Regions from separate parts of the Homo sapiens genome. Here all the other regions are linked to region 1. The links are contacts of gene promoters, found by promoter capture Hi-C in blood cells and fetal thymus (Javierre and others, 2016). All regions are on one chromosome and are shown on one strand. The core of a region is centred on a gene start or on the middle of the fragment in contact, and the rest is flanking DNA. Distances in the headings are between cores, read along the strand shown.

Region 1 (5,385 bases), core at 736-3,235:
CGCACACATACATACTAAACAACAGTTGTACCTACTAAATTCATTCAGTCACCACATATTAACTGAACTGGTACAATGTTCCAGGCTCTTAATGTTATTGTCCTACTCTATCATTTTCTTCCTTCCTTCTCACGCTCTCTTTCGAGTACATTTGCATATTGATGAGAATAATCCAGTAGAAAGGGAAAAACCAATCATGAGGAGAGAGGGGGCACTGGACTCCATCTACTTTAACCTTGACAAGACTGAAATAGATGGGAACTATAGCTCAAGTGGTTTTTCATAGGAGTGAAGTCATTTTTTCCATTCTAACAGGATGGGAAATTAACGGATTTATCCATGTAGTGGTAGGTTTACATTGGTGTAAAGATGATAGAATTTCCCTCTGATGGCTTGATAGCAAGGGAGACAGCAGCTGTGGAAAGTTTGAAATTTTTAAACAATCTTTTCTGAGAATAAGGAGGAAAATGAGCAAACTTGAAGAATGTATTAAGTACTAGGTACTATTAATTGTAGTCATGAATTTAATGTAAACCCTCCAGTCTGTTATTTTCTCCAGGGGCAGTCAGCTATGTACAGATAATACAAACAGCTGGTTTCAGAGTTGGTGTTTCACTAACCAAAATATGCTGAGAGGAGAGACAGGGCCACCAGAGTTGAGGGTGTTTGCATGAGAATGATTTAAAGGTGGACCAATGGACTCTTAACTATATAAGGAGTAAGGTAAGGAATAGAAGTGGGGATAGCTACAGATAAAAAATCACTGTGATTAATGGATTAAATGAAACGTTGTAGATGAGAAATTATAGTAAATCATGTAGGAGAGAATGTATTTATCCATAAGAGTGCCTGTAAACGACATCTCAGAGATGGAGCAATTATTGGAATCTTAAGGTTCTAGGCTGCAACCATGAACACCTGAGATAAAGTGTAACAGGGATATTTTGGAGATGAAAAGATCAAGGGAGGAAAAGGCTGAGAGGTTGTACGGATCATGGATTGGTAAATCATTGAAATTTATCAGTCAGCTAGGTAGGCCAAGGTACTAATTAATTATGCAAAAAATTCTATTGTAATCCTGTTCTTTGCTACATTTCATGCTACTTCCAACTGCAATAACCTCAAGAGTGTTTACTTAAAATCTATCACTCAACTGCGAAGGATAAGTAAAGGCCCCACATGGATAAACTATCCCCTATCTGCATTTCCCATTCCTACCAAATACTCTATTAAATCCCAGCATAGGAAGGGTGTGATCTGAGTCTCATTACTTTGTGATGCCCGACTGCTGAGTTACTCATACACAACGAAACTCAGAAGCCGCGGAATAACAAATGTTCAAGTAATTTCAAAGTCTTGACTATCAAGATGGAATGTCTTCCTTAACTTCCTCAACCAGCTGGCCAAAGCGGTGAAACGCTTTTCTAATATCCAGCAGATGGGGACTGTTTAAGAATCCCAACAAATTACCAGAACCTGGTCCACCTGTCCTCCCGCGCCACCTGCCCACCAAATGAATTCCGAGGGGAGGTCACTAATCAGAAACACACCCACACCCTCGTGACGGGGCCAAGCTGCCAAGCTGACACTTAGCGAGCAAGTACGGACCTCTCCTCGCAGGCTCCGGTGGGAAAGGCTCCTGGAAGGGCGCGAGCCAGGAAAGTAGATGAAGTGAAGAGATGAAGACTGCGTGGGGTAGTTGTTGGAAAAGCTCGGATCATCCCCAACCCAGCCCCGTCTTGTCCGGCCCCAAAAGGCCCATCTCGGCCGAGCTACTCACACTTTGTACGGCAGCCGTGGGTCCGACGTCAGCGTGATCTTAAAGGAAACCTTCGACCTGAGGAAAAGAGCGGGAGAGAGTCAGGGTCGGGCAGCTGGACCAGGAATTATGGCAGTCGGTAAGCAAACACTTACATGGTGGTGCCGGAATGAATCCAGAACACACGACAACTCCGCGGGGGTAGCACGACTTCCTCTAGTGTGCTGGGGACCGCCCCGCTCCACTCACGTCCACGTCTCCCTCTGCAATCTGGGGACCTCCGAAGTTGTTGCTATCCAACGCACTGCCTGAAAATTGGCCCTAAGAGCTCATGCTAGATGGCGCTTTTAAATTACAAATATCTTGTGCTTTTGCGTTTATATATCTAAGAAAAAAGTATGGATTATATTTATAAGATATCTTTCTAACTTTGGTAATTTGCTACCATATTTTTAGTCAGGCAGAATAAGCGTGGGCATAGAGCGTAGGACCCTAGGTTCCAGTTGGCAGGTTGGGGCGGAAGTAAGGGTATGGGGTAGTCGGATGAAGAGCGAGATGGACTTGGGGCGAAGCTCGGGGCGAGGCCGGGGGCGGGGCTGGGGCGGACGCGCTCTAAAGTTTCTAAGGCAACCTGAGCGCGGAAAAGCTTAATTGGTGCTCCAGAAGCAGGAATTGTAACACTGCTTTATCATTAGTTTTCTTCCGTCTTTCCAGCAAACCAATCCTGTTATATCCTTTACATTTCTCATAGTTTCTCCTTCACGCTTTACTTTCCGATACTGATTTATAACTATTGAATTTCGGTTAAGTAAGAGAGCTATCAAGTACGAATTATCTATGCCAAGACTCCCGCTGGGGTGGGTGAGAAAAAATGAGGTTTCTACGTTTGGGGAACGTGGCGTCTAGTTGGGAAGACACATCTATGAACAGGAGATTTCAGTAATTTGTTATATGGTCTAATTAAACCAGTGCGCTGAGTTGCTAATCACTGACCACATTTATTCAATTTAACAACCAACTTTGAACCCTTTCTATTTGCCCGGCGCTAAGCTAAACTCTGGGGAATCCAAGATGAGTAAGGCAGGTAGGCGTCAACTCTCTAGGATCTAACATCCTGTGTAGTGATGACGGAAGAAAATTGTCCTCTAAACTTTATTACAGATCTAAACCTCTGTGTTTGGAAAATATGCGTCTGTCTCACAATGACTGAAATGCCCTTTTAAAACATTAGCATGAATAGACAAAGGAGGAAGCAGGTAGGCATTAAAATAATGGGGCAATCTAGTTGATCTTTAGAATATGCATCAGATTCTTAAGGAGAGATACTTAAGAGAGGAACCAGGAAGGAACTGTAGTAGGGATAATGGAGATCAAATTCATCTTTACAATAATTTTGCAGCCAACTGATCTTCTATGGTGACATTTCCCAGTGGAGAGAGTTCTGGTTCTGAGTAGGCAAGTAAGACTCCAACATTCTCATGACAGCCATCCTCACTTTTTAAAATAATGGTCTTACCATATATGTAGATGAAGCCAAATATTGATTGACAGATACAGGGATCAACAGTTACAGCCTTAATAGCTGAAACTATTCAATTAGTGGGTGTGACTAAAACTTGTGAGAATAGTAATAAGGATAAAACTGTGATTGTGTCTACCTATTGTCAGCTAGCCAAATAATAATGAAAGAGATGAGTGTACATATTTACAGTCTATAAGACTACATATAATATATTTTGAAACAAAATTTGCATCCTGCTATTTATAGTTTGGTTTCTGCTCATGAATCAAAACGTGGCAAAATCCTAAAGAGAAAAATGGATATTAATCAGAGAGCTTTTATTGTATGTATAAAAAGTGGTGAAAACAGAATTCAGTCCCACAGTGTGACTTTAGTACTCAGATTCTGCTGCTTCAGAAAATACATTTGTATAATATATCAAAATAACATCTCTTGAGATATTAAAAAGCAGCTGTTTCTAAATATTTAGAATTCTTTTTCACCTCAGTCCCCAACTCTGCTTCTCATGTTTGTCTCCTCAGAGTCACAGCATGATTTCTGCAGCCTCCTGAGTTTTATTTTGCTTAGGACAAGAAAGAAATTATAAATGGATTTATTTATAATCAATTTTTTTAACTTTGTGAAGGGATTTGCAATTGGAAAATTTTATAGCAAAACAAGGACCTTCTCTTTTACTGAAAAGTTAAAATGTTGAAGTACGTTTAATGGCTGTAATCAGAAGCAAACTCTGGAGCAAATTTTTGGAGATAATTGGCAATGGAACATTTTAAGACAACAAATAGCATAAATGGCCTAATGTGTTTTGGAAAAGATCCAATTAGTATCATGTAGAGGCAGAAATGACTGTAGAAGTGCACAGTGTGACCATGTTAGACCTCATTAAATGTCAATGAAGCATACCAATATTCTATTTGCAAATGCATATAAATTTCCCATTATTAGAAGAAAGCCAGAAGGAAATTAAATTTACATAAGGACTAAAAAGATTTGCTTCCATAGTCATAGAAATTCTTCTGACTAGTTATTTTTATAGCCAACTTTATTTTTTATATTCCTCTGGATGCCAAAAAAAATTCTTTCATTTTCACCATAATTTGATTGTATTTACGATTATGACTAGAACCATCTGATAGTCAAATTATGTAATCTTGAAACATCTGCACCTGAATAAATCTTAAGGTGTTCTATTCCAAATACTTTATATTACAGGGAACAAATTATAGACTGATCAATTAATAATTGACTGGTATTTTAATAGTACTTTAATTTGTTCATTTTTTTCTATTGCCTTTTCTCCCCTCAAAATCCACTAAAAGGCATTGATATAATTGAAGCAATGATAATAATGACTCAAAATTCATTAAGATTTATTTTTGGCTGGTATTAACCACTTTGTACAAATCAATGACAAAATATAGACTTTAAACTTTGATGCCTTGGCTATAAGTCATAATTTAGTGACAAGAAGCCTTATACAAAGAGGAGAGAGTGGATTTGGTTACAGAAGTACTTGGGAATATGTAAATGCTGTGTTATTTTTCAAGGTAAGGACTAGAAGGTTAGAGAATATTTACATTCCTTTGAGTCAAAAAGAACAATGAAACCCAGGTGAGATCGGAGCCTAGCAAGTCCAGGCAAGCCCTTACAGAAGACTATAGCTCTAAATGTGCTACATTTGATTGTTACAGTTACATATTTTTCCCAAATATTTTCTAAAATTCAGTGAGAAAAAGAAATGACTTTTCTACGAAGCTCATTGACTACAATGTTTCTAAATTTGAGGCTTAATCACAAAACGTGGAATATTTTAACCACAGAATTTGTAAAATATCTTTATTACAAAATGGCATTTTGAACTGTGAAAAACAGGAATTTAACAGTCTGGTATAATTAAATTTTCTCTCTAAATATTGTGCGAATTCTTCATTTAATGGAAACATTACTTTTAGAAAAACTGAAGTAGCCTCTGACAAATCCATTTCAACCATGAGTTTTTTTTTTCCACATTTACATATTTTTATCCTTCCACCAGCTAAATGAGGTAAATATTAATGTTCTATTTTTACTTTTCTCTATTAACTTAAGGTTTTCTGATTCAAGTTGA
Region 2 (5,454 bases), core at 566-3,065, 6.2 Mb before region 1:
TCGCCCCTGCCCGTGGAAGGGCGAGGGGACCGCATGGCAGCAACTGCACTGCACAAAAGACAACACCTATCACCGGGAGCCACCGGCCTTCCATAGACCCCACAGCTCCCGGCCCTAGGGCATCCCCCGAGGAGGCAAGGGCCGGGGGCGAGCCCAGGTGCGGCGAGGGGGAGGAGGTTTCCGCCACGCGCCAGGGAAGAAAGCCTGACTCATGTCGTGGCAGCGGCAGCAGCCGCGGCGGCGGGCTCCTGGGAACTGAAACTCGTGATGCTGTTGCTGCGGAGAAAAGCCTCATTACCCATTCCGCAGGCGGGGGACACCACCCAAGGCGCGCACACCAAGCGCCGGCGCTCCCGCCGCCTCCGCCGGCCCTTCCGCGCCGCGCCCCCTCCTCTGCCGCGTGCCCGCGCGCGCCGGCCGCGAGTGTGAAAAGAGCGGACACACCTAACCTGGGCGCGCGGCAGGCGCGCACCCTGCCCGCCCCCACCGGGCCGAATCACGCAGTCCGACCCGGATTCGCTCCTTCGGCCGGAATTCCCCACCCCCACTATCCCCTCCGGCTCCACCACTCCCGGCTTCGGCGCCTCTGCCAGCCTTCGGTAATTTCCGTCGGGAGACCTGGCGCTCGCCTAGGCCCGAAGACCCGCCGCCTCCTGCCCCGCCAGACCCGGCTTTATGTCTGCGGCGCCGAGGCGCATGCGCAGACGCCATCTTCCCTCCTCCTCCTCCGCCTGCCCCCTCCCCCCAGCCACCACCGCCTCCTCTCGCCGGCGGTCGCCCCTCCTCCTCCTGCGCTCCGCGCTGGTCCCTCCCCTCCCGATGCCGCGAGAGACTGGGGGATACGGTGGAGCCGGGGGAGCCGAAGAAGAGCACTAGTAACAACCACCACAGCCCCCTCCCCGCCCGACACCCTCCCTCGGCACCCACTCACTCCCCCGCCCCGTTTGCCGACACCGACCAACCCCACCTCGTTCCTTTGAACGGCGTCGGCTGCAGTCGCTGCACCAGCCCGTCTGGCCACCAACGCCGCGGAGAAAGGAGCCGCCGCCGCCTGCGGCCCTCTCCCGCCCGGTCGCGGGAGCAGCGGGGTGAGGAAGAGCCGGCTGCGGAGGAAGAGGATAAGAGAGGGTCGCACCCTCCGCCCTAGCGCACGTCCCGCCGCCCTCCGGAGAGGCTCGGGTGCCGGCCCCTTCCTCCCCGAGGACGTGTGCCGAGTCGAGGCGCCTGCCCTGAGGGAGGAAAATGCTCGGGCTCCATGGCTGCCAGTGATGGAGCGGTCCCTGGGCTCCCGCTGCCACCGCCGCCGCCGCGCCCCGGCCGTGCTCCGCGAGGACCCGGCGTCTCTGCGCGCCCGCCCGCGCCTCGTTGCTGGGCTCACCGTACCGGGCGCCTCGCCGCCGCCCCGCTCGCAGCCGCGTCGCCCCGGCCCCAGCCGCGGCCAGCGTTTCCTCACCGAGCAGCCGCCGCGAGCCCAGGGGGTTTGAAAGGGTCTGCGGGGCGCGGGGGGAGGGCCGAGCGGGGCCGGGAGGGGAGGTTTGAGCGACACTGAGCTCGGGGCTCGCTGGCGGCGGCGGCGGCCCCGGGGGTGGCGAGGGGAAGGCGACATTTGCTTGGCGCTGCCTCCGTGCAGAGCGGCCGGGAGGGCTTTGCAGCGGCCGCCGACGCGGCGGGAGGAGGGGGCTGAGGCGGCTTCGGAGTTGGCCGGAGAAGGTGGGCATTTCTCGCTTTTCCTCCCCTTCCTGCGCTCTCCCCCTCCCTCCTGCCCCGCACCCCACGTGAAGCAGAATATAAAGGGGGGTGTGAGGCTAGAGGGGAAAGTGAATGGCGAAGGACTGAAGGGATCCCCCCTTCGGGTCCCCGGCCGCCCTGTTCACCCTCGTTCATCCTCCTTTCCGAAGCTCGCTCTCGAAGGCAGGAGCGACCGGCGCCTTTGGCTGAGGAGGAGGAGAAGGAGGAATCGCGCCAGGCGGAGCGTCAGGTCCCGTTTTCCTCTCCGGCGTCTCCAATACAAAGATTACGGTGCAGAAGGAAATTGCACTCGTCTCCTCCGCGCCCCCGGTACCCAACACAATGCACCAGCCGCCTGAGTCCACCGCCGCGGCCGCCGCCGCTGCAGACATTAGCGCTAGGAAGATGGCGCACCCGGCAATGTTCCCTCGAAGGGGCAGCGGTAGTGGCAGCGCCTCTGCTCTCAATGCAGCAGGTACCGGCGTCGGTAGTAATGCCACATCTTCCGAGGATTTTCCGCCTCCGTCGCTGCTTCAGCCGCCGCCCCCTGCAGCATCTTCTACGTCGGGACCACAGCCTCCGCCTCCACAAAGCCTGAACCTCCTTTCGCAGGCTCAGCTGCAGGCACAGCCTCTTGCGCCAGGCGGAACTCAAATGAAAAAGAAAAGTGGCTTCCAGATAACTAGCGTTACTCCTGCTCAGATCTCCGCTAGTATCAGCTCTAACAACAGTATAGCAGAGGACACTGAGAGCTATGATGATCTGGATGAATCTCACACGGAAGATCTCTCTTCTTCGGAGATCCTTGATGTGTCACTTTCCAGGGCTACTGACTTAGGGGAGCCCGAACGCAGCTCCTCAGAAGAGACCCTAAATAACTTCCAGGAAGCCGAGACACCTGGGGCAGTCTCTCCCAACCAGCCCCACCTTCCTCAGCCTCATTTGCCTCACCTTCCACAACAGAATGTTGTGATCAATGGGAATGCTCATCCACACCACCTCCATCACCACCATCAGATTCATCATGGGCACCACCTCCAACATGGTCACCACCATCCATCTCATGTTGCTGTGGCCAGTGCATCCATTACTGGTGGGCCACCCTCAAGCCCAGTATCTAGAAAACTCTCTACAACTGGAAGCTCTGACAGTATCACACCAGTTGCACCAACTTCTGCTGTATCATCCAGTGGTTCACCTGCATCTGTAATGACTAATATGCGTGCTCCAAGTACTACAGGTGGAATAGGTATAAATTCTGTTACTGGCACTAGTACAGTAAATAATGTTAACATTACTGCTGTGGGTAGTTTTAATCCTAATGTGACAAGCAGCATGCTTGGTAATGTTAATATAAGTACAAGCAATATTCCTAGTGCTGCTGGTGTGAGTGTTGGGCCTGGAGTTACCAGTGGTGTTAATGTGAATATCTTGAGTGGCATGGGCAATGGTACTATTTCTTCCTCTGCTGCTGTTAGCAGTGTTCCTAATGCAGCTGCAGGGATGACTGGGGGATCGGTTTCAAGTCAGCAGCAACAACCAACAGTTAACACTTCGAGGTTCAGAGTTGTGAAGTTAGATTCTAGTTCTGAGCCCTTTAAAAAAGGTAGATGGACTTGCACTGAGTTCTATGAAAAAGAAAATGCTGTACCTGCTACAGAAGGTGTGCTGATAAATAAAGTGGTGGAGACTGTAAAGCAAAATCCGATAGAAGTGACTTCTGAAAGGGAGAGCACTAGTGGGAGTTCAGTGAGCAGTAGTGTCAGCACACTGAGTCACTATACAGAGAGTGTGGGAAGTGGAGAGATGGGAGCCCCTACTGTGGTGGTGCAGCAGCAGCAGCAGCAACAACAACAACAACAGCAACAACCAGCTCTCCAAGGTGTGACCCTCCAACAGATGGATTTTGGTAGCACTGGTCCACAGAGTATTCCAGCAGTTAGTATACCACAGAGTATTTCTCAGTCACAGATCTCACAAGTACAATTACAGTCTCAAGAACTGAGCTATCAGCAAAAGCAAGGTCTTCAGCCAGTACCTCTGCAAGCCACTATGAGTGCTGCAACTGGTATCCAGCCATCGCCTGTAAATGTGGTTGGTGTAACTTCAGCTTTAGGTCAGCAGCCTTCCATTTCCAGTTTGGCTCAACCCCAGCTACCATATTCTCAGGCGGCTCCTCCAGTGCAAACTCCCCTTCCAGGGGCACCACCACCCCAACAGTTACAGTATGGACAACAGCAACCAATGGTTTCTACACAGATGGCCCCAGGCCATGTCAAATCAGTGACTCAAAATCCTGCTTCAGAGTATGTACAACAGCAGCCAATTCTTCAAACAGCAATGTCCTCCGGACAGCCCAGTTCTGCAGGAGTAGGAGCAGGAACAACAGTGATTCCTGTGGCTCAGCCACAGGGTATCCAGCTGCCAGTGCAGCCCACAGCAGTCCCAGCACAACCTGCAGGGGCATCTGTCCAGCCTGTTGGCCAGGCTCCGGCAGCAGTGTCTGCTGTACCTACTGGCAGTCAGATTGCAAATATTGGTCAGCAAGCAAACATACCTACTGCAGTGCAGCAGCCCTCTACCCAGGTTCCACCTTCAGTTATTCAGCAGGGTGCTCCTCCATCTTCGCAAGTGGTTCCACCTGCTCAAACTGGGATTATTCATCAGGGAGTTCAAACTAGTGCTCCAAGCCTTCCTCAACAATTGGTTATTGCATCCCAAAGTTCCTTGTTAACTGTGCCTCCCCAGCCACAAGGAGTAGAACCAGTAGCTCAAGGAATTGTTTCACAGCAGTTGCCTGCAGTTAGTTCTTTGCCCTCTGCTAGTAGTATTTCTGTTACAAGTCAGGTTAGTTCAACTGGTCCTTCTGGAATGCCTTCTGCCCCAACAAACTTGGTTCCACCACAAAATATAGCACAAACCCCTGCTACCCAAAATGGTAATTTGGTTCAAAGTGTTAGTCAACCTCCCTTGATAGCAACTAATACAAATTTGCCTTTGGCACAACAGATACCACTAAGTTCTACCCAGTTCTCCGCACAATCATTAGCTCAGGCAATTGGAAGCCAAATTGAAGATGCCAGGCGTGCAGCGGAGCCCTCCTTAGTTGGCTTACCTCAGACTATCAGTGGTGACAGTGGGGGAATGTCAGCAGTTTCAGATGGGAGTAGCAGCAGCCTAGCAGCCTCTGCTTCTCTTTTCCCGTTGAAGGTGCTACCGCTGACGACACCCCTGGTGGATGGCGAGGATGAGAGGTAAGATCATGTCATATTTCTGGAGACATTCAACAGATTTGAAGTTAATCTATTTAGTAGCTATATGTATGCACAAAATGACTCTAAAACATTGTATATTGTGTTTTGTATGTGAAAAATGCATTTTTATGGGAAGTTTTATAGAGCAAGAGTTATGGAATGGTTTCAGAGGGAGTAGGAAATAATAGTAATATGTAAACAATATTTTCAGAATAGTTGTTGAGCATGTGTTCACATTAAAAACAGGTTTGGGGGCGCCAAGTGGTTTTATTATCTCTAAAATGCTTTTTAGAAATATTATGGAAAGCTTAATTTTTGCTAACCCACATAATAGTTAATCTATTTTGAGCTGCTAAAATAATCTCTTGGGGGGTTGTGGTTCCCACGTTTGTTCTCCTTTACTAGACATCCCTTTTTCATTTCTACTGTGTTTGATCTTAGTCTGTGAAAGATATTGTTGCCTACTTTTCCT
Region 3 (5,322 bases), core at 2,673-5,172, 5.9 Mb before region 1:
TGGCAGTCTCCTCCTGAGAGCACAACAGGATGGTTCACACTGAGGTGAAACCCTGACTTGGTGGCTAAGAATGATCCTATAGAACCCGCCCCACTTAGTTTTCCTCTGCTGGGAAGTAGAATCAAACATTGTTGTCTAAGTCATGTTACACATTCCTGCGGGATGTGCTGGAGTCCAGCCCGTTACAGTTCATCACCCATGCAGCTTTGCGCCCATGTCTGTAGTCAGAGGGCATATAAAGTTATACACTGGAGAAAAAAGCACCAGATCCTAAAGGCACATCTTTCCAGGCTTAAATGGAGATGGGAAATCTGGAAAATGCAGGTGTTAATATGGTAGAACCAAAAGAACCAGCCAATTCAGTGAAAAACAAAATAAGGTACATTCATGTTCATAGCAGCTTTATACACAATAACCAAAAGGTAGAAGCAGCCCACATGTTCATCAATCAATGAATGGATAAGCAAAATAAGTTGTATACATACAACGTAATATTATTCAGTTTTCAAAAAGAAGGAAGTCTGACATGCTATTATTTGGATTAACCATGAGGACACTATGCTAAAGGAAATAAGCCAGTCATAAAAGGACAAATACCACATGATTTCACGTATATGAGGCACCTAGAGTAGTCAAATTCATCGAGACAAAAATAAGTATGGTGGTTGCCACGATGGAGGGGGAAATGAAGAGTGAAAAATGATTAAGATGGTCAATTTTATGTTATGTGTATTTTACCACTATTAAAAAACAAAAACACAAAATAAGGCAAAACAAGCCCTTGGTAAAACAATTCACGGATTGACAGAGCTTTGTTAACTGGTAGCTTGGACTTCCTGGAGACACAGCCACACATGGCCAGCCAGAGCGGGATCAGGTGAGGGGGTTTCAAGCCAGGAAGATCAGTTGCCCTGGGGAGGGCTTATTGAGGAGGGAGTTGGGTCTTCTTCTGACCTTCGCCTTCCTGGGAATTCTTCCCTCCATCTATGACTTACAGAGGACAACCCGTTGTGAAAGTATCTATCTCTGTGTTTTAAATACTGGCATTGTCCTGGGGTGAGTTTTTCTTTCCTTTGGCACAAACGTTGATTAAACTGGTTAAAGAGATAGGGGAATGCTCTCAGGGGTGATGGCTGGTCTAACAGCATGTTTCTCAAACTGGGATCCACAGAATCTCGATGCAAATTTTATAATCTTATTTTAGCTTAACCTTATAAATATGACTTAAAATTATATATTTAATGCAATAATTGAAGCAACGGGGTGACCAAGTTATCGCTAGTATGCAGGTACAATTTCAGTGCTCACATGTATGGTTGTATTCCCTCCAATGAAGGGCAAGTGACATCTTGAAGCTTGGCATGAATGGAGGGAGGTGTAGCACCAAATTAAACTGAGGAAAGTGGTGGGAGAATTGAGTCATCCCACAGCACGGGGTAGCATAGGCATGCCACACTCAAAAATGCCAACATCTTAACAATGTCAGCATGGTATGTGTGTTGCAAATTAGTTTCAACAAAATAACATTACTGGTGTTATTAGCTTAATGTGGTTGATTTGAATTTTATTGACCTTTGAAGGTTTGTTTTTCATTTAATTTGTGAGTTTGTGTTACTTTTCAAGTTATATCAGAGCTGTCAGCATGAAGAGTTTATACCCAGATTTATGTTGGTATATTTTTAAGTAGCAGTATAGTAAGGTTAATTCACATTAACACTGAAGGTCAGGGATGCCTTTTTTCTCTTTATAGCTCCCACAGCTTTCAGTGTGAGAAGCCCTAACCATCACAGGGGGGTCAACAGGCTCTATCTATATTTGATCTGACCTGGAGGAGATCTTTACTTTTGGACTTTACAAGGCCCAAAAAAATGACTTATTGCAAATGACAGGAACTACATTCAGGAATTCTACCCATTGTCTTCAACATAAATTCATAAAAATATGCAAAAATAAATAATAGCTCCTGTTCCTGTTCATGGAGAAACTGGCACTCCTCAACTTCTTAGCCTCTTCTCCCAGGCTTGGTGGATCATCTTCTGTGCTTCATACTCTCCTTGTCCCTTCTGGTCAGAGCTAGGGTTGACAGACTCTTTCATGCAGGATGCTTGTTTTGTGTACAGAAACTTCTAGACTTGACATCAGGAAATGCTCATATTTAACTTCAAACACAATTCTGATCAGTAGTTTCTACGGAGTTTGGCATCCCTAGAAAACATGCTGCAAACTGCTGTCTTCCTATTTTGCTCATGACCCCAAGGCTTGCTCTGCACATCTGCTGTTTGTCTCTCTGTAACATATATACTCTGCCTTTCGTGTTGCATTCTCTGTTGAGATTTGGATCCTGCCCAAGCAGCACGAGGGGCCTTTGGAGCTCTCTGGGCAGGAAGTCACATCCTGTGCAGGAGCCAAGTTGAAATGGCTTCCGATTTGGGGCAGAAACTTGGGTACACAGACATTTTGTGAAACCATTGATGTTTCTACTTGCAAATATTTCTGCAAACAGGAACAATTTCTGTTAACTTTCCATGACCTGTGTCACAGAGGCATGATGCCTGTCTGCTATTTGTTCATTTGGCAAATATTTACTAGATATCTTTTATACGACAGCCACAGTTCCAAGTTTTTTCAACACCAAGATGAATAAAATACAGCATTTGTCCTTCATGAGCCTGTGGTATTGTTGGGGATGATATGCATCTAAATAGGCCTAAGTGCATTGTGACAGATGTTCTACCTTCTCATATGGTGACATACTGTACAGTAAAGCCTTCTGCAGGTGACGAGGAGGAGCCCCCTAACTATCTGAGGAGGTAGGGATAGACATCCTGAAGGGTGTGACATTTAAACTGGGTCTTGAAAGTTGAGTGAGAATTCTCTTGGTAGGAAATGGGGTAGGGTAGGCATTCAAGGTAGAGAGAAGAGTTTGTGTAAAAGCTCAGAGGAATGGAACTGCATAGAGTTTGGGTGGAAATACAAATTGTTTGAGATGCCTGGAACAAAGGTTTTGGTGCGTGTATGTGTATGTTATGGGAGGGGGAGGGTGGTGGAATCTCACACTAGAGGGAAGGAGGCTGAAGATCCTGAAGAGGCTCAGAGACTTCAGGCCATGCAGACACAACTGTATACCACTCCTTCTATCTTTGGGCTATGGTGCTTTGCTTCCCCATTTCCTTTCCCCTCCCCTCCCCTCCTCTCCCCTTCTTTCCTCTTCCCTCCCTTCCCTTTCCCTTCCCTCCCCTTCACTTCCCTCCCCTTCCCTCCCCTTCACTTCCTTCCCCTTTCCTCCCCTTCCCTCCCTTCCCCTCCCTTCCCCTCCCTTCCCTTCCCCTCCCTTCCCTTCCCCTCCCTTTCCCCTCCTCTCCCCTTCACTTCCTTCCCCTTTCCTCCCTTTCCTCCCTTTCCATCCCTTCCCCTCCCTTCCCTTCCCCTCCCTTTCCCCTCCTCTCCCCTTCCCTTCCGTTACCCTCCCTTCCCCTCCCTCCCCTTTCCCTCCTCTCGCCTCTCCTCCTCTTCCCTTCCTTTTCCTTCCCCTTCCCTACCCCTTCTTCCCTTCCCTTCCTTCTCTCTTTCTTCCTTTCCCTCCCTCTTTCCCTTCCCCTTCTTTCCTTCCCTTCCATCTCTCTTTCTTCCTTTCCCTCCGTCTTTTCCTTTCTTTCTTCCTTCCTTTGTTCAGCATTATAATTCACATACCATACATTTTACCCATTTAAAGTGTACAATTTGATGGATTTATATTCACAAAGTTGGGCAACCATCATCATAATAAATTTTATTATATTTTTATCACTTCCAGAAGAAACCTTGTACCCTTTAGCTATTATCCCTCAACCTCCTATCCTTCCAGCCCTAAACAACCAAATTTTTTTTTGTCTCTGTGGATTTACCTATTCTGGACATTTCTTAGAGATGGAATTGGGACTTACAGTTTCTGGTTAGGCATGTAAGGAGTTTGGAAGTCACCACTCCATCCTAAGGAATAAAAAGCTGAACAAACGGAAACATCCACAACTCTTTAGATCCATCAGAGAATTGAGATCACAGGGCAAACTGCTGTCCTCTAAATTGTAGAGGCAGACAGGTAGACACGGAGAATCACAACTTACAGAAGCTGAAACCAGGAGAAGAACCCTCCACAGGGAACAGCGCTGAAGTAGTTAAAACTGGAACTATAACCAACAAATTGCTGGCGGCTCAGTATGGACAAGTCTCAGAGTGAAAAACTCCAGGACGACTGGGTCATAGGGGTTCTGCATACTTCTGTGAGTTTTAACTTCTGGGGCTCAACCAGGTTCTCACAGTGACTATCAGAGAAAAATCTTCTCATTCATTCAGCAGGAGATTGGGAAAAGGAACCATTTTAAAATACAACAGAACATTCTGTTCTTAACAAGGTCTGCACTCAGGAGAAACTGTTTTACCAGAGCATAAACTATTGGGGTTTATCAGACCCTAACTGACTTAGAGGATGGGAAACACCCAACTCCAGCCCACTGTAGCCATCTTGTCCCGCCTAAAGGGGGCTGGGCTGAGAACACCTGTGAAGTTCACAGTTCGCAGGCAGAGGCTCACTAAATTAAGACCTAATTATAGGACTACAGATTACTTCCCCTCCCCACACCTCGCCACCACATTATTAAAGGCCTGTTTACAGCAGTTCCTTTTACCCAGTATATCATACCCAGCTATCAAGAAAATTAAGTTAAAAAAAAAATATTACCAGGCATACTAAAACTGAAAAAAACACAGTTTGAAGAGCCAGAGCAAGCCTCAGAACCAGACTCACATGTGGCAGAGATGTTGGAATTATTAGATCAGGAATTTAAAACAAATATGATTAATATTTGACTCTACTGGATAAGTAGACAGAGAGCAAGAACAGATAAGGCAATGTAACCCAGGAGATGGGAATTCCAAGAAACAAGAGAAAATGCTTCAAAAACACTTCAACAGAAATAACAAATGTCTTTGATGGGCTCATTGGTAGACTAGATAAGGCTGAGGAAAGAATTGCTTGAGGATATCTCAACAGAAACTTCCAAACTGGAAAGAAAAAGATGGAAAAAATTAGACCAGAAAATCCAAGAACTGAGGGACAGCTATAAATATGTAACATGTAGATGGAATCATACAGTATGTGGCCCTTTTTAAATGGTTTCTTCCACTTAGCAAGTTTTTTTTTTTTTTTTTTTGCAGCTGCAGAGTCAACAGCAGTCCTATTTCCCCTAAATTTGCAAAGGGATAGTGAGCTCATGGGAGAGAAAAAGAAAACAGGAAAACAGTGATGGGGTATTTGGGGACTGAAAATGCAAAACTAAATAGATG
Region 4 (4,886 bases), core at 629-3,128, 5.5 Mb before region 1:
AGCTTCTTTACATTTTGTTCATATGAAGAAGCCCTCTCATAGATGTAGTCTGGGCCCCTAGCCAAGAAATAAGTGGAAAAAATGGTTAAATATTGAATTGTACACTTTATAAGGATGTACTTTGTGGTATGTAAATTATATCTAAAAAAGGCTTTTTTTATAAGAAAAAAGGTCAGTTAAACCACAGAATCATGAAAAAATATAACAAATACCTTAAACTGTATTCTAACCTAAAACAACTGTGTGTTCATTTGCCCATCTATTGAGAAGATCCAAGACCTTTTCTTTGCATGTAGTCTACTGATTGGAATTCTGCATACTATCTCTTGCATAAACCGTACCCATAAACCATCAGCTAAGATTTCCCAAGATTTTGTTCTTTTAAGGGGAAAATAACTTAAAGGCACCTGTGAAGCAATCTGAGGGCAGATTTATACTTTGTAATTTTTTTCTTTTTTGAGATGAAGTCTCGCTCTGTCGCCAGGCTGTAGTACAGTGGTGCGATCTCGGCTCACTGCAGCCTCCACAGGGTTCAAGTGATTCTCCTGCCTTAGCCTCCCAAGTAGCTAGGATTACAGGCGTGCACCACCACGCCCGGCTAATTTTTGTATTTTTAGTAGAGACGGGGTTTCACCATGTTGGCCAGGATGGTCTCGAACTCCTGACCTCTCTTGATCTGCCTGCCTCAGCCTCCCAAAGTGCTGGGATTACAGGCATGAGCCACCGCTATATTTTATAATCTTTTACAGTTAATCTCACATACTTTTGTTGGGTCTTTCCAAAATATTAAACATAGATTTTTAAAGAAACAACAATTTCCACACTATTTCATTGGTTTATACAATATTAAGTTACGAAAGCACAATATCAAGCACAACTGGCAAAAACAGGTTTGCAAACAAACACAAGTAAGTCATAAGATTGAACTAGTCAATTGATAGGAGCAGAAATAGGCAGATTTACTAGTTAACAGTTTCCTAGCATGATATGGGAATTAGTCACTTATGACTTACAAAGGTAATAGAGTGAGTTAAGTGGTTAGAGGTTATGTGTAGATAGGCTTAGACATAAGCTGCTGCGCCTCTCCATTTTAATTGACTGTGTGTCTTTCTGCCTAGAGTGTTTTGAGGGCAGAGATAGTGCCTGGCTATTAAGGGAACTATTGAAGAACTCACCAGACATTTTTATAATGCTATGTAAATCTTCTCATGAGAACAAGTATAATTTTAAAGAACAAAACAGTTGTTTTTAAGCCATTTACACTAAGGTTTATGGATCTTTCCAGAAAAAGCCATGTAGCAGATGCAAATTTCCTTGCTAAAAGCTTCTGTTAGTTTCCTAGGGCTAGCATAACAAATTGGCACTAACTGGGTGACTAAAAACAACAAAAACTTGTTCTCTCACAGTTACGGAGGCCAGATGATGAAACTGAGGTGTTGACAGCACCTTGCACATTTTGGTGGTTCACTTACCTCTTCTGTTGTCTGGTGACTTCAGGTGTTCTTTGCCTAGGGGCTAAGTGACTTCAAGCTCCATGCCTCCATCGTCAAATGGTCTTATTCCATGTGGGTCTGAGTCTCAAGTAGCCCTCTACCTTTCTCTTATAAGGATTCTTGTGTAGAAATAAATGAAGATCAATCAAATGAGAACAAGCAAAAGCTATTTATTCAGGCCTTGTAAGGGAGGGAGCCACAATCTCCTGCATTTTAGCAAAGTTGAAGGCAGGCAGAGGAGTGGGCATGCCCTGATTAGAGGCTCTCAGCATGAGGAAGCTGCAGGCAGGCTAACTAGAAGTGGAGCATTCTATGGCTTCTTTTTGTTAGTCTCAACTTGGAAATGGGGACAAAAGTTAGGGAAGATGCCAGTTATTAATCCAGTACTGGTCATTTGGGACAATTGTTATAGTTTGTCTCCTAGGATTGTTATTAGAGATAATGATTTAACTTTCTACAAGTCTAATTTATAGACTTCCTGGACTGGTTACTGTAGATAATGGGTTAGTCTCCTGGGTTGCTTGCTGCAGGTTGTGGGTCAGAGTTCTGTTTTTACATATGGTCTGGCCATTGTCCATTTGCATATTCAGTCACCTACCCTAAATCCAGGATGATCTCATCTCAAGATCTTTAACCCAGTTAAATCTGCAAAACTCCTTTTTCAAAATAAGGTCACATTTACATGTTCTGGGAGTTAGGACGTGGATATATCTTTGGATGTGCGGGAGGGCACTATTTAACCCACTATAAAGTTCCTCTTGGTTTGGAAATCATGTTTACTTGTTTAGAGGGGGAGGAAATAAAAGACCTTGCCCCTTGCCTCTCTGAATGAGACAAGCAGGTAGGTTATAACTGGATTTCACCAAAGGTCTATATAACTTCTGTCCCAGAGGTAGAAATCTTTTCGAAACAGTTGCCTGGACATCCTTTAAAGCTTGGATTTGAGCTGCAGACCAACCCCTTAATGTCTACACTCCAAAACAAGAGATGTTTTGGTAGTCCAGTACTGTCTATACATTCAGCAAAGCCCCTCCTTTGGTAGAAACCTAGAAGCAGTGTGGATAATGTATGAATGTTGCCTATTATTATCTTGGATAAGGAGGTAAGGAACAGTACAAACCCTCTGTTTTCTTTCTTTTTCAGTGCCCTGAAACTCTAATCTCATTGCCTGGCCAGAAAAGGAAGTAATCCCTAGTGTCAGCAGATTCAGCGGTACTGGTGTATAATAGGTATACAGTTTATTTTTAATTATTCAATTAATTCTTTTTGGATGTCTCTGATGATGTTCTAACTTCTCTTAAAAACATGTTTGAAAAGAGTTGTCTCTAAAGCCTGTTTCCTTAATTTATGCAATTCTAATGAATTATCGGTAGATGGCAGTAGTTTGTTTTCATTTTTCTTTTCATTGCACAACAGAAGTCTGGGGAAAAAAAACTAAAACTTTTCCAATTTTACAGCATGAATTTTATGAATATTTGGTTTAAATAAATATTATCCAAGAGTTCTTCAATTTATGTTGCTATAGAAATAGAGATCAAGAAGTACTAGTTACTTTATTTTTATTGTATAAATCCAATTTTCTTTATTCTTTAGGTTACTTTATCAAATACTTTAAGGAATACAAAAATAAATAAAACACTGTATTTGTCTTCCCGGTGCTTACACTCTAATGGGGAAAGATACTATAAAATAATGAAAATAATAAAAATAAAAATATGTTGATTATTCATTGTGTGACAGGAATTTGCTAAATGCTTTACATGCATTATTTCATTTAGTCTTCACAATAACCCTAATGAAGCAGGCACTAATATTGTTCCCATTTTATAAGTAAGGAATCTGTGGCCCAGGTTGGAAATAATTTTCCTAATAAGCTAATAAGTAGTGCAATCTAGATTTAAAACTAGCTCTGTCTTACTCTAGACCTATACCTTTATCTAAAATGGTATAATAGAAATACTGAAACAATTCTTCTAAAAAGAGAAAGACCATATCTTCCCAGAAAGATCGAGAAAGACCTCCTAAAGAAAATGCCATCTAAATGGAATTGAAAGATTGGCTGTGATGTTGACGTGATCAGAATAGTGCTTTTGGAGCATTATTCTGTTAGAAAAGGGCAAACTGGAGTGGAGATAGACTATAATTAGACACCTGTTATATGCCAGGCACTTCTAGACATCTGCCATCATGGAGCTTACATTAGTAGAAGGATATGGAAAAGACGTGTATGAGATGTCGGTGGTAATAGATGCTGTCAAGAAAAATGAGGCAGGGCAAGGGTGAAAGAGAGTTATCAGGGAAGGCTTCTCTACTAAGATAGTATTTGGAATTGGTAAGGAGTGATTGGATTCCAGTATAATTTAAAGGTAGAGCCAATGGGCTTTGCCAAAAGAACTGCATGCAGCTTGTAATGGAAAAAGAGTGAAGGTTCTGGCTCATCCTTTGGGTAGGTCAATCGGGGCAGCAGCCTTGGAGTGTTAAGGATTTCTCAAAGGGCCTATGAAACATCAACAATAAGATCTCCTTTATTATTGCCTTGGGCAAGTCTAGTTGAATTGCCTTGGGCTCTATATCCTTGTAGAGACCTCCCTGCTAATGAACTCAGGGTTTTTGGCCTGAACAACAAGAAAAATGAACTTATAATTTACTGAGATAGAGAAGACTATGAAGGTGCAGGTTTAATGGTGGTAATAGAGTGGACAGAGGAATCAAAAGTTCAGTTTGTGATATATTGAGTTGAAATGCCTATTAAAAATCCAAATGGAGTTATCAGGTAGGCAATGAGTATGAGTCTACAGCTCAAAAGGGATGTTCAGGGTAGAGATATAATTTGGGAATTGTCAGCCTATAGGTGGATTTTAAAGCCATAGAACTAGATGGCATCACATGTAGAATAAGTATGAGAAAAGAAGGAAGCCTGAGGACCGAGCACTAGGAGGTGTGACATAAGTGAAAAAGATGAGAAGGGACCAGCAAAGGAAACCAAGAAGTATGGTATTTCAAGAAGGCAGTAATTATCAAATGTGTTAAATGATGCCAATAGGTCAAGTAAAATGAAGACGGAACTTGTTCATTGAATGTGGCAATGTGGAGCTCATAGATACCGTGATAAAAGTTTTAAAAGTACAGTGATAAATGACTGGTTCTAGTGGGTTCAAGAAGAAAGAGGAGAGGAAGTGGAGACCAAAGATCTTGGCTTTAAAGGGGAGCAAAGAAATGGGTCAGTACTGAAGGAGGTTATGGTGTCAAGCAAGGTTGGTGGTGGTAGTGGTTGTTGATTTATGATGGGCTGTTCAGAATAATACGTTTGACCAAGTAAATGGGGAAATTCTGTTGAGGGACCATTCAAAGAAGTAATGTCTGTGAGAAAGGAGTACAAAAGTAGAGGATTGG
Region 5 (5,397 bases), core at 954-3,453, 6.6 Mb before region 1:
TTAACTAAACCAGTTTGGAAGGCGGGGAAGAAAATTAGGTTATAACAAATACTGAGGCTCCAGCCGATGGCAAAACAAAACAAAACAAAACGAAACCAAAACATTTTACTCTTGATATATTTATTTGACACATTGTTTTAAAAAAACTTTAAGAATTTGTGATATGCTAGATTAGAATTAGAAGTCTTAGTATTGACTTGTGACAGTTTCCAATTGTTATGCAAATAAATGCATCCCTTTGTTATTAGATGAGATTATCTAAAATGAAGACTATATTTAAAGACTAAAATAAAGACTATAATTTTTTTTGTTTGTTTTTTGAGACGGAGTCTAGTTATGTCGCACGGGCTGCAGTGCAGTGGCGCGATCTCGGCTCACTGCAAGCTCCGCCTCCCGGGTTCACGCCATTCTCCTGCCTCAGCCTCCCGAGTAGCTGGGACTACAGGCGCCCGCCACCACGCCCGGCTCATTTCTTGTATTTTTTAGTAGAGACGGGGTTTCACCGTGTTAGCCAGGATGGTCTCGATCTCCTGACCTCGTGATCCCCCTGCCTTGGCCTCCCAAAGTGCTGGGATTACAGGCATGATCTCGCTCTTGTCCCCCAGGCTGGAGTGCAATGGCACGATCTCGGCTCACTGCAACCTCTGCCTCCCGGATTCCGGCGAGTCTGCTGCCTCAGCCTCCCGAGTAGCTGGGGTTACAGGGGCCCACCACCATGCCCAGCTAATCTTGTATTTTTAATAGAGATGGGGTTTCCCCATGTTGGTCAGGCTGGTCTAGAACTCCTGACCTCAGGTGATCCACCCACCTCGGCTTCCCAAAGTGCTGGGATTACAGGCGTGAGCCACCGCACCGGGCCTATTTTTATTTTTTGATTATTATTTTAGATTATTTTACTCTCAGATGATATTATTATCCCTGTATCAATCGCGGCCCTGTAGGAAACTCGTGATATATTCTTAGCAGAGTGCTTAATCAAGGATTATTTAAGTTTTTCTTAGGGTTTAGGGAAACAAGAAGGGGTAATGCAGCTCTCACAGCTCCTGAGCCTAAGGGGCAAGGCCAGGGAGGATAGCTGATGCCGGGGGCTGCCAGGCAGAAGCTGTGTAGTTTTTGTTTGTTTTAAACTTGTTTTTAGGCCAGGGGCAGTGGCTCATGGCTATAATCCCAACACTTTGTGAGGCCGAGGTGGGAGTATCACTCGAGCAGGAATTGGAGACCAAGACCAGCCTGCACAGCGTAAGGAGACACCGTCTCAAAAATAAAAAAATAAAAAAAAAAAAAAAATTTGCCAGGCAGTGGTGCGTGCCTGTAGTCCTAGCTGCTCAAGAGGCTGAGGTGGGAGGATCGCTTGAGGCCAGGAGTTCGAGGCTGCAGTGAGCTATGATTGCTGCTGCACTCCATTCTGGGCTAGTGAGATCCTGTCTCCAAAAAGCAAGACAAAACTGCTTTCAGATGGCAGGTGAATTCCATTTATATGAAGGCTGTCATGTCTACTCATCCTATTAATCATTCATTTTCATAAAATAGAGTTTTGACCTCATGGATTTGACAGAAGCTTTCTTGAGATGGCTGTAATATTTGGTGGACTCAGAGCATAGTAGATATTTCTGAAGACAGGTACTTAATGATATGAAAGGGTTTCACTTTGTGGGGAGATGGTTACTTCAGTTATATTTGGCATTTTTATGGCTTTCCCTTTTTGTAAAACATTTTGCCATAACTTCCATTCATCATCCTCATAGTCTTTAGATTCATAGACTATTTGAGCTGGAAAGGCCCTTAGCAGTCGTTTAACTTAGACCCTCGTTTTACCCGGGAAACATCTATTCTGAGATTTTATTTCTCTGATTCCCTAGTATTGGACTTTAGATTGTATCCACAAAAGATTGAATTCCTGTCTGGTGCTCTAGCCAGACACCACTCTCTCCAAATCCTGGCGTCAAGGAGCGGGGCTTAGGGGGATTGAGTGCAGAGAAGATTCAATTATTTTTATTTATTTATTTATTTATTTATTTATTTATTTATTTATTTATTTTGAGATAAGGTCTCCCTCTGTCACCCAGACTGGAGTGCAGTGGCGCGATCTCAGCTCACTGCAATTTCTGACTCCTGGGTTGGAACGATTCTCGGGTCTCAGCCTCCTGACTAGCTGGGATTTTAGGTGTGCGCCACCGCACCCAGCTAAGTTTTATGTTTTTAGTAGAGATGGGATTTCACCATGTTGGCCAGGCTGATCTTGAATTCCTGACCCCAAGTGATCCGCCTGCCTCAGCCTCCCAAAGTGCTGAGATTACAGGCGTGAGCCACCGTGCCTGGCCAAAAAAATATTCTCTTGTATTTTTGGTCAGTGTTCACAGCATAGCTGCATAAACATAGTAGTAATTTTTCTACGTGAAGTTTTTTTTTAAAAAAATTCATCATATATAATCATTTCTAGAAAGTGATGAGCTTAACCTGTTTGGGGTATTTGAACTAACCATGTGTTCCTGTATGCTTTCATTTTTGCATATAGTCATAAACTCTGATGGATTCCACATGAAAATTGCTTTGTGCCCCTCAACAAGTGTATTTATAGTCATGCAGATTCATATGTATGTTCCCTCAGAGTATATCTGATGCCGCATGCAAAAATATCCTAAATAATTACATTAACACTTCATATATTAATATGAAAGCAAATATGAATTTTAACTCACCCACACTGTAAAGCTGAATAACTTGGAAAAACACTGACTACTTGGAAAATCACTGGAACAAATAATCAAAAAATCAATTTGCAAACTTCTAGAAGACCACAGGGCACTGGGTAATCATCCCACATTACTTTGTGAAAAACAAAGCTTATCAGATGAATCTAATTTCCTTTTGTCGCAGAGTGACAGCCATGGTAGATGGGGGAGCAATCAACATAATCTATCCTGATTTAAGAAAGCTTGGGATTTTGCAACTTGTTGTGTACTCATTAAGAAAATGTAGGTATGGCCGGCATGGTGGCTCATGTCTGTAATCCTAGCACTCTGGGAGGCCGAGGTGGGTGGATAGCTTGAGCTCAAGAGTTCCAGGCCAGCTTGGGCAAAAAAGCGAGACACCCTCCCAACCCCGGCACCGTCTTCTACCCCTCCCCGCCGCCCGTCTCTACAAAAAACACAAATCGCTTCCTCCTGCCCCTCGTCTCTACAAAAAACACAAAAAAATAGCTGGTGGTGCACGCCTGTAGTCCCAGCTACTCAGGAGGCTGAGATGGGAGAATGGCTTCAGCCTGGAAGGTAGAGGTTGTAGTGAGCCGAAATCGCACCACTGCACTCCAGCCTGGGAGACAGAGCCAGACTCTGTTTCAAAAAAAAAAAAAAAAAAAAAAAAAAAAGAAAGAAAGAAAGAAAGAAAATGTAGGTAAGACTATTCCTGTTTCATAGGGATACAGTCAAACTGAAGTTGGGGGCTCAGCTTTATGCAAATAGGCAACTTCAACACAGTATGTGCAAAAGTGACCTCTTTCTCCTTCCCAAGTCCTTTTCTACTTGGATTACTTATTTTTTAGTGTCATCCAAGATCTCCTTGTTTGAGTTACTTAATCTCTCTGTTCCTCAGTTTTCTAGAATCTAACGTGGGGATAAGAATGGGACCTACTTCATAGGGTTGTGAAGATTAAATGACATAATGCGCATAAAAGGCTTAGCCCAGTTTAAGGCCATCACCGTCATCATCATCACCATCATCATCATTGTCATCATTGGCATGTTTAGTCCCTCTTTCTCCTCCACTCGCACCACGTCTAATTAAAGCTTATTTTATTTTACTATTTATTTATTTTATTATTTTATTAAATCTTATTTCTACCTCTTCAGTTATGCTCACATATATTCTTATCTACTTCCCTGGCCACTCTGCTGGTTTAAATCATCTTGTTCTCTGGACTATTGCAATAGGCACCACACTGGTTTCCCTGACCCCATCTTGCCCATCTTCTCTATCTTGCATTCTCCTGGCTGTTACAGCGCAGAGCTGAACATGCTGCTTCCCTGCCCTAAACCCGAAGAGCTTTGTCTTGCTGAGTGCTCCCAATCTGCCTTTGCAGCCTAATTCCTACCTCTTCCCTCCATGTATCCTAGATTCCTGTTAATTTCACACTGTTTCCTGTATCTGGCCTTTACTCAATTTTTCTTCTACTTGAGACGCTCTTATGCCCTTTCTCTAAATATCTACATCTTATCCATCCTTTAAGGCTCAATTCGAACATCACATGGTTCCTATAGCTTCCCTTACCTCTCCTGTGGATGCTGGTTGCTTCTGATTCCCATGGCATCTTGTGTACTTCTCTTCCTATACTTACTCCTTTCTAAAGTTAGGTCCTAGCTTAGATGTCATTTCTGCCCTGACTGTGGGTGAGATGCTTTCTCTGCACATTTCCCTCTCATTGCATTTACCACACTTGTTGTGGCCCTGCTAGATTTTACTCTCCAAGGCCAGTGCCGTGCACACAGTAAACACTTAATAAGCATGTGTTGAAGGATGTGTGAGCAGGACAAGGACTTTATTGATTGGAATACCTTAAGTTTCAAGTTACAGAAAGCCATTGGAACTCCACTAGGGGAGGATTGTTGGCTAATGTAACCAAACTGTGTGAAGTAGAATGGGATGGCTGGCCTTGGGGACAATCAGAATCAGTGTTTTCTCTCTGTGTGTCAGATTTATTCTTAGCTATCATGGACCAACTGCTTCCACATGGCAAGGGATCTGGGCACTCTGGCTCAGTACTCATTCCTCCCAGCTTCCCCACCCGAGAAGGAAGGTCTTTCTTAGTTTCTGTTGGAAAGTGCTGGGGGAATGTGACCTCGCCTAGGCCCTGGGCCCTGCCTAGGGTTGATGAATATGGGGTATTATGATTGGCAGCTCCTATTAGAACCACAAGGTAGAGAGGAAGGATGAACTGGTATTAAAGTTAAGCCAGAGAAATTAAAATAGTGGTAGTTTAACATAAAGAGTGGTGATTTACCATATTTACAAGGTTGCACAACTTTGTAAACATACTAAAAAGCCCTGAATTGTAAAAGACTGAATTGTATGGAATCTGAATTATATCTCAATTAAGAAAAAATTAAGCCAGAGATGAAATCTTGCTGGCAAAAATAAGCATTTCTATATTCTTTATATTTGGGCTATTCATGTATTCAGCAAACATTTACAGTGTGTCTAGTATGTGCTGGCAGTTATCTAGATTTACACTGTAGTGGGAAATAGCACACGCACAAACACACAAAAAGGGTAAGAGGGTTGGATTTCATTCTAAATGTGATGGGAAAGCTCTGGAGGTTTAGGGGTGGAGAGAGGTCCACCCCCTGGATGAGGACCTTCTGGACTCTAGGGCCTTCTGGCTGGTGCTCTGCTGTGGTCAGC

What was found. The method cuts DNA at HindIII sites, captures the fragments that hold promoters and counts their contacts. A CHiCAGO score of 5 or more calls a contact.
Region 2: a contact is called between the fragment with the promoter of TSC22D1 here and the fragment with the promoter of UFM1 in region 1, in 5 of 17 cell types (naive CD8 T cells, total CD4 T cells, naive CD4 T cells and 2 more). The highest score is 8.7, in naive CD8 T cells.
Region 3: a fragment that was not itself captured here is called in contact with the fragment with the promoter of UFM1 in region 1 in 1 of 17 cell types (total CD4 T cells); the score reaches 8.8 in total CD4 T cells.
Region 4: a contact is called between a fragment that was not itself captured here and the fragment with the promoter of UFM1 in region 1, in 2 of 17 cell types (naive CD8 T cells and non-activated CD4 T cells). The highest score is 5.3, in naive CD8 T cells.
Region 5: a fragment that was not itself captured here is called in contact with the fragment with the promoter of UFM1 in region 1 in 2 of 17 cell types (total CD4 T cells and total B cells); the score reaches 9.1 in total CD4 T cells.

The regions. Positions count from the first base shown.
Region 1 is chr13:38,346,451-38,351,835 of GRCh38, reverse strand. UFM1 (ubiquitin fold modifier 1) reads right to left here and starts at 1,985. Exons shown (of 6, transcript NM_016617.4): 1 at 1,915-1,985; 2 at 1,781-1,837. The coding sequence starts at 1,916. RefSeq lists silencers at 1,434-1,648, 2,346-2,455 and an enhancer at 2,026-2,235. The HindIII fragment of the contact is 2,541 bases long and covers 1-2,407 here.
Region 2 is chr13:44,572,691-44,578,144 of GRCh38, reverse strand. TSC22D1 (TSC22 domain family member 1) reads left to right here and starts at 1,815. Exons shown (of 3, transcript NM_183422.4): 1 at 1,815-4,982. The coding sequence starts at 2,071. TSC22D1-AS1 (TSC22D1 antisense RNA 1) reads right to left here and starts at 2,249. Exons shown (of 3, transcript NR_038381.1): 1 at 1,875-2,249; 2 at 968-1,103; 3 at 1-43. RefSeq lists silencers at 123-172, 353-552, 823-1,062, 1,073-1,782 and an enhancer at 2,103-2,342. The HindIII fragment of the contact is 6,017 bases long and covers 1-5,291 here.
Region 3 is chr13:44,275,459-44,280,780 of GRCh38, reverse strand. No RefSeq gene overlaps it. Among named protein-coding and RNA genes, the nearest start is that of MIR8079, 82 kb to the right of the region's middle. The HindIII fragment of the contact is 5,130 bases long and covers 1,358-5,322 here.
Region 4 is chr13:43,872,678-43,877,563 of GRCh38, reverse strand. CCDC122 (coiled-coil domain containing 122) reads left to right here. Exons shown (of 7, transcript NM_144974.5): 2 at 2,637-2,722. Among named protein-coding and RNA genes, the nearest start is that of CCDC122, 4.6 kb to the left of the region's middle. The HindIII fragment of the contact is 1,103 bases long and covers 1,327-2,429 here.
Region 5 is chr13:44,911,957-44,917,353 of GRCh38, reverse strand. The region is part of intron 1 of LOC107984619 (a long non-coding RNA gene); the gene reads left to right. Among named protein-coding and RNA genes, the nearest start is that of TRE-TTC2-1, 3.3 kb to the left of the region's middle. The HindIII fragment of the contact is 1,285 bases long and covers 1,561-2,845 here.